2 separate regions of the Homo sapiens genome follow, and region 2 is linked to region 1. The links are contacts of gene promoters, found by promoter capture Hi-C in human tissues and cell types (Jung and others, 2019). All regions are on one chromosome and are shown on one strand. Each heading gives the region's core, a stretch centred on a gene start or on the middle of the fragment in contact. The rest is flanking DNA. Distances are from core to core; before and after follow the strand shown.

Region 1 (3,642 bases), core at 622-3,121:
TTATATATCAACAGCATCATTTATAAGAATTAAAAACTAGAAACAATATAAACAATGAAGAACAAGAAAACAAAGTATAATACTACATTTATTTGATGCTATCATTAAAAGTTGTATGTTTTTGAAGACTAGACTAGCTATTGTCATTGGGAGGAATGCTCACAATATAAAGTGAGGGGGAAATGTTTAAATTGTTTGCATCTTGGGGACAGGGCTGAACTCAGAAATTGCCCCTGGGGATTGGATTGGGGAAAGGGGACCCTTTACATTTTAGTCTTCTGTTTTCCTTTTGAGTAATACTAATAGTAGTGACTATACTACTAATAATAATTCAAATGATTACTGTAAGCCAAGCATTATGCTAAGTCTTTTGTGTTTATTTTCTCACTTAATTCTCTCAACCATCTGAGCAGGTAAGTACTATTTTCCTCATTCCTTTACAGACAAGAAAGCTGAGGCACAGAGAAGTCAAGGCATTTGCCCAAGGTAGAGCCAGAACTCAAGTGTAGAATGTTGACTCCAGAGTCTTGTTTTCTCAGCTACTACAATATGCTGCTTCTGGTTAGATATATTTGTAGTACTGCAATTATTTATTTATTTATGAGACAGGGCTTGCTCTTGTCATCCAGGCTGGAGTGCAGTGGCGCCATCTCAGCTCACTGCAACCTCCACCTCCCGGGTTCAAGCGATTCACCTGCCTCAGCCTCCGGAGTAGCTGGGATTACAGGTGCGTGCCATCACACCCAGCTAATTTTTGTATTTTTAAGTAGAGATGGATTTCACCATGATGGCCAGGCTGGTCTCGAACTCCTGACCTCAGATCATCCGCCCAAGTCAGCCTCCCAAAGTGCTGGGATTAGAGGCGTGAGCCATCGCGCCCGGCCTGCATTTTAAATTAAGGAACTGATTCTACCTCTGCCAGGCAGTTCCCTCAACTAGAAACCTCTTCCCCGTCTACATAACTCCCTGATCTCCTTCAAGTCCTTGTTTAAATGTCACTTTCACAACGAGTACTATCCTGACTGCCCAGATCAAAATTGCAACCTGACCCTCATCCGTTATACCCCGCTGTGCTTTTTTCATAGCATGTATTTAGTATATCATATAGTTTTCGGATTCACCATATGCTTCTGTTCTCCTCCAACACATGAGCCCCACTAGGTCACGGGTTTTTAAATCTGTCTTGCTAACTGACGCATCTTAGCCAAAAAAAAAAAAAAAAAAGTCCTGGCACAAACTACGTGCTCAATACCTATCTGTGGAACAAACGAAGGTTTAAAACCATGGCATGACTCCGCATTGCTTTCTTACTTTAAAGCATAAACATACATACACACATGGGAGACAGGGAGAGGATATTTCAAAATGTTAATGGTGATTTCAAGTGATTTTTTTTCCTTCTTTATGTTTTCCTCTATGTTTTCCTGTTATGTTTATGTTTCCTGTGGTTTTATACCCCAAATTCTACGTGAAAATGTATTCTCTTACCATGAGAAAATTGCTTTTGAAAACGTCTCTCTAAACCTAGAGTAACGTGCATTGCCGCGCAGAGTGAATTGGTTTTGCTGTAAATCTCATGAAGCCGTTTTCCTGCATGAAACACAGTAAAAAAAAAAAAAAACTGGAGTGGTATTGACGACCTTTAAAAAAAAAAGATTGTTCTGAAATCATCGCTTGGTGTTTTGCAGTGGTTAAATGTTTATTAAAGGAATAAAAATCCATTCCTCCTTGGCGGACCGCGGCGTCCCTAGGGAACACACCCACCTAGCAACCGAGACCAGAGCTGGAGCGCTGCGCCTTTAATTCTGGGGCGGGCGGGGGGCGGCGGGAATTTCTGCTCCGGTTCCCTCTGCATCGCGGGGGCAGCTGTCACCTGTAAGGCGAGCGCGGCGCGGGGGATGGAAGCAGGCGCCCATTGGACAGAATACAAAGGCAGAAACCTACCCCGAAGGCCGGGGCCCGGCGGGGCGCTGGGGGTGGGCGCTCCCCGCGGCCCCCGGCGCCCTTCGCCCCGAGACGCCCCGGCCCAGCGGCACTGGCGCGACCGAGGTCCAGCTTCGGGGACACGCCCGGCTGGCCGCGGGGAAGGCACCAGGTGAGCGCGGCCGCGCCTCCCGGAACCCCGCTCCCGCGCGTCCCGCGGCGACGCGGCGCCCACCCGCCCCGGGAGCCAGGAACCCAGGGCCCCACCATGGCGCTGGCCGCCGCCGCCGCCGCTGCGGCTGCCGGGGTGAGCCAGGCGGCGGTGCTGGGCTTCCTGCAGGAGCACGGCGGGAAGGTGCGCAACTCCGAGCTGCTGAGCCGCTTCAAGCCGCTGCTCGATGCCGGCGACCCGCGGGGCCGCGCCGCCCGCAGGGACCGCTTCAAGCAGTTCGTCAACAACGTGGCGGTGGTGAAGGAGCTCGACGGCGTCAAGTTCGTGGTGCTGAGGAAGAAGCCCCGGCCCCCGGAGCCCGAGCCCGCACCCTTCGGCCCCCCGGGGGCAGCGGCCCAGCCGTCGAAACCCACTTCGACGGTCTTGCCGCGGAGCGCCTCTGCCCCGGGAGCTCCGCCCTTGGTCCGGGTGCCGCGGCCAGTGGAGCCGCCAGGGGACCTGGGTCTGCCAACAGAGCCACAGGACACCCCGGGGGGGCCGGCCTCCGAGCCCGCTCAGCCGCCCGGGGAGCGGTCCGCCGACCCACCGCTTCCAGCCCTTGAGCTAGCCCAGGCCACCGAGAGACCCTCCGCAGACGCGGCCCCACCGCCTAGGGCCCCTTCTGAGGCGGCATCGCCCTGCTCTGATCCGCCAGACGCGGAGCCCGGGCCCGGGGCAGCGAAAGGGCCGCCGCAGCAGAAGCCCTGTATGCTGCCGGTGCGCTGCGTCCCGGCCCCCGCCACGCTCCGCCTCCGGGCGGAGGAGCCCGGCCTGCGCCGGCAGCTGTCGGAGGAGCCGAGCCCGCGGAGCTCCCCTCTGCTGCTGAGGCGGCTCTCGGTGGAAGAGTCCGGTCTGGGCCTCGGCCTGGGCCCGGGCCGCTCCCCGCACCTGAGGCGCCTGTCGCGCGCCGGCCCGCGTCTGCTGAGCCCTGACGCCGAGGAGTTGCCCGCCGCGCCGCCGCCGTCCGCGGTGCCCCTGGAGCCGTCCGAGCACGAGTGGCTCGTGCGGACTGCCGGGGGCCGCTGGACCCACCAGCTGCACGGGCTGCTGCTGCGCGACCGCGGCTTGGCGGCCAAGCGCGACTTCATGTCTGGCTTCACGGCCCTGCATTGGGCCGCCAAGAGCGGCGACGGCGAGATGGCGCTGCAGCTGGTGGAGGTCGCGCGGCGCAGTGGCGCACCAGTCGACGTGAACGCACGCTCCCACGGCGGCTACACGCCGCTGCACCTGGCTGCACTGCACGGCCACGAGGACGCTGCCGTGCTGCTGGTGGTGCGTCTGGGTGCCCAGGTGCACGTGCGTGATCACAGCGGGCGTCGCGCCTACCAGTACCTGCGGCCCGGCTCCTCGTACGCGCTGCGCCGCCTTCTTGGCGATCCAGGCCTGCGAGGCACCACGGAGCCAGATGCGACCGGTGGTGGAAGTGGCAGTCTTGCTGCCAGGCGCCCCGTACAGGTGGCCGCCACCATCCTCAGTTCCACCACCAGTGCATTTCTGGGCGTCCTGGC
Region 2 (3,642 bases), core at 508-3,007, 42 kb before region 1:
AACCAGGGCAGAGCAGGGACCTGAGAACAGACCAAGCTCTTGTCCCAAACCACTCTGCTACATTGCCTCCCCTGTTCTTAGCAGGCTTCCAACTCATTCATTCAGTCACTCAACACACACGCACTGGACATGTCTGCTGTGTGCCAGGAACTGAGATGGCTGCCAGTGAAAAGATGAGGACATCAGATCCTTGACCTCAGAGGGCTAAGCCTAAACTCAAATGCCTTTAGAAGCCAGGCAGGTAACATATATAGGTGAAGGGGAGCAGCACCTTAATAACAATGGCAACAACAACAGACATAACTAACATGTATTGCATGCTTGCTTTGCGCAACCCTAATTTAATCTAATTTAGTCCACACATCAGCCCTATGACATAGGCCGTAGCAGCCTCCCCATTGTCTAGATGAGACAATAGAGGCATCAAGAGAGTGTGTAATTTGCCCAAGACCACACTGCTCAGGAGAGCAAAGCCAGGATCTGAATGGAGACAACATGACTGTGAAACCCACACTTCTAGTCACATCACTCCCCGCCTGCTGGATGAAAGACAGCCACTAACTTGGCCAAGCGTGGGGGTTCCCGGGGAGAGGTGGGAATGGCAGAGAACTGGAGAGCCTGTGCTTATGCTCAATCCATGGTGGCCACAGTTCCACAACGCCAGCCAACTGTGGGAACACAGATCTAGTGTTGCCAAATCTTCCCGTTTTTAAAGAGAACCCAAAAATCTCTCTCTATATATACATATATATATATATATATATATATATATATATATATATATACACACACATATATATATATGTGTGTGTGTGTGTGTGTGTGTATATATATATATATATGTATATATGTATATATATATGTATATATGTATATATATATATATGTATATATGTGTATGTGTGTGTATATATATATATATATATATGTATATATGTATATATATGTATGTATGTATTTTTTGAGACACAGTCTGGCTCTGTCACCCAGGCTGGAGTGGTGTGATCTCAGCTCACTGTAACCTCCGCCTCCTAGGTACAAGCAATTCTCATGCCTCAGACTCCCCAGTAGCTGGGATTACAGGCACGCAACCACCACGCCTGGCTGATTTTTGTATTTTTAGTAGAGACGGGGTTTCACTATGTTGGCCAGGTCGGTCTTGAACTCCTGACCTCAGGTGATCCACCTGCGTTGGCCTCCCAAAGTGCTGGGATTACAGGTGTGAGCCACCATGCCTGGCCCAGAAATCTATATTTTTATGTGAAATTCTGTAATTTTTAAAGATTGACAACCAATACAAACTGAGAATACCATGAGGGCCCAATACAACATGTCAGGGGGCTGGTGTGGGCCAAAGGCCTGCTGGTCTGTAAGCTGGCTCTGGTGGGAGGGTGAGCTGGACGGACCCTGCAGCCAGGCTCCATTCTCAAGTCAGGAAGCCCCATGGCAGACTGCTCTGTGGGGAGGAGCCTTCAGGCAGGACAACTTAACTTGGACCCCAGAGAGAGGTGGACCCAAAGCCTCTGGCTCATTCCACACACCCAGCTCCCTGAGGTGCTCACACAGGGGTGAGCGTTGTATATGTCTTCAAAGTCCCAGGATAGAGGGAGTTGGCAGCTCTGAGCTCTACATATGCAATGAGAAACTCCATGGGGCCATTATCCCCTCTCTAATCACTAACAAGCTTTTGGCTCCTGAGCCAGGCCCCAGGCTTCTGTGTCATCATTTCTTTGGCACATCAAAGACAACAACCAAAACAATAACTTCTCAGGCCGGCTGCGTGCCTCCATGCCCGGCCGTCCAAGACAAAGTAGAGAACAGCATTTTGTTACGCAGCCCAGTGGATAACTAGGACGCCCTTTTCCTGATAGGAAATGCTCTGTCTGAGCCTCCTAGAGCAGCCCTCATCACCAGCCAAGAGGAGCTGTCCCTTTTACCATGAAACAAGGTGGGATCTGGGAAGAAACTGCATCTCATGGTTGCCAACACACAAAAACAGGTTTTTATCCAGAAGGAACTGGAAATCTACTGAATCTCTAAACCAACAGAGCCGGGGAAGCTGTGGGTAAATAAAGACCCCTGTGATCCAAACCCCCAAACTAGGCTGGTTGTTGCAGTGGGAGTAGAAAGGATACCCCACCATAGGTGGATTGGCTACCGAGTAATGGACAAAGAGCAGCCCCCAGACCTCAGGCCTTCCAGAGTTCTCCAGTGCCTTGGACTTTGGATGCTTTTCTTCCTCTGGGCTCCCATGCCTAGCACCCACTCACCTGTACACCCAGTCAGGCAGACAGGAAGCCCACTCCCCAGGGGAGCTCCAGCCCTGGGGGTGGCCCTATTAAGTAACTGAGCAATGGACTCAGGAGTCAATGGACCACTGGAAGCTTTCTCCACCCATGTTCCTGGCACAAACTATGCTAGCCCCGGCTCCAGCTCCTCCCAGGAGCCTGGGCCTTAAATAGCCAGAGCAGAGGCCTCTAGCCAGAACCCGTGGTCGCGGTCATAAGCACAACTGTCCTTGAGCCTGAGAGGAATCCTAGGAATTTTCCCAGGAAAGGCTTCGGCTCTGGTCCCAGGATTCCACAGCAAGCCTCTAAGCCCAGGTCAGAGGTTACGGGAAATAACCAAGGAGACATACGTGGGAGGGTGGGGGTGGGATGCTGCTACCCGGGGCCAGGAAGGAAGAATAGAGGCAGGATATACCTGTCCCAAATCAAGAGGACACCTGGGAGCCAAAGCATCTTTCTCCTACAGTGGCAACAGAAAACTTGAGAGAAGATTCAAGCAAGGATCACCCGCCATGGTCCCAACATGACGGCAGTCAAGGTAACAGGAAGCCAATCATCCTCACAAGGCCAGTCCTACTCCACCCATCCTGGGAAGAGAAGGAATTTTGGGAGCAAAACCATCCCCTGACCCCAATACTCCATTCTCTCTGTTTCTCTGTCTCACTAAGAGGCACTGTCTTTCCTTTCTGCACACAGCCAGCCAGGCTGGAGCTTATTAATTTGGGATAGTGTGTTTCAAGCTTTTCCCATCAAAATCAGATTTCCAGGAAGCTAAGAGCACAGTTACTGGTAGCTGGGCCAGTACTCGCCACCCCAACCCCCAGGCCTAGGACAGACACATTCTTGGCCTTTATTGTGCTGCCTGAGAGGGAGTGGTCTATCCCACCACAGAGGAGATGGGGAAGGTGCTCTGGGCTGCAGAATGTACTAGAACTCCAGGCATTCATATTTTCTTACTTAGCTCAGGGACTCCAGTGGCAGCCACCACTGCCTTGTAACAGGGAAAGCCACGAGTGGTCTGGGTATCACTGGCAGGAGAAGGCAGCCTCTGTTTCACAGCAAATGAAACCCTTGGAGGGAGAATGTGGGCAGCAAAGGTGCCCCGCCTTCTGTCCAACCCCACGATGGATGCCAGTGCTGGAAAGGGACGGAGGAATGCATGGGCACCAATACGGGTTGGCAGAGGTATGGGGGTGGCACTGCTATACTTCTCTGCTGCTTGTCCATTCACTCCAACACCAGGCAGAATGTCAGGTTTGTACCCAGGCCCAAGAGCCATGTCTGGCAAGTGGGCTTGGGTCCATACCCACAGCCCCTCCTGAACCCCAAGCATCAGGCAGCCCAAGCCCTGGAG

The links. Contacts are between HindIII fragments. The study calls those that stand out against the background at their distance.
Region 2: a contact is called between a fragment that was not itself captured here and the fragment with the promoter of SOWAHA in region 1, in 2 of the 25 tissues and cell types used here (dorsolateral prefrontal cortex and hippocampus).

Annotation. Positions count from the first base shown.
Region 1 is chr5:132,811,431-132,815,072 of GRCh38, forward strand. It overlaps SOWAHA (sosondowah ankyrin repeat domain family member A), which reads left to right and starts at 1,872. Exons shown (of 1, transcript NM_175873.6): 1 at 1,872-3,642. The coding sequence starts at 2,192. RefSeq lists a silencer at 2,907-2,976 and enhancers at 3,016-3,516, 3,517-3,642. The HindIII fragment of the contact is 8,247 bases long and covers 1-3,642 here.
Region 2 is chr5:132,769,239-132,772,880 of GRCh38, forward strand. All of the region lies in intron 1 of SEPTIN8 (septin 8), which reads right to left. Among named protein-coding and RNA genes, the nearest start is that of SEPTIN8, 6.2 kb to the right of the region's middle. The HindIII fragment of the contact is 3,532 bases long and covers 1-3,523 here.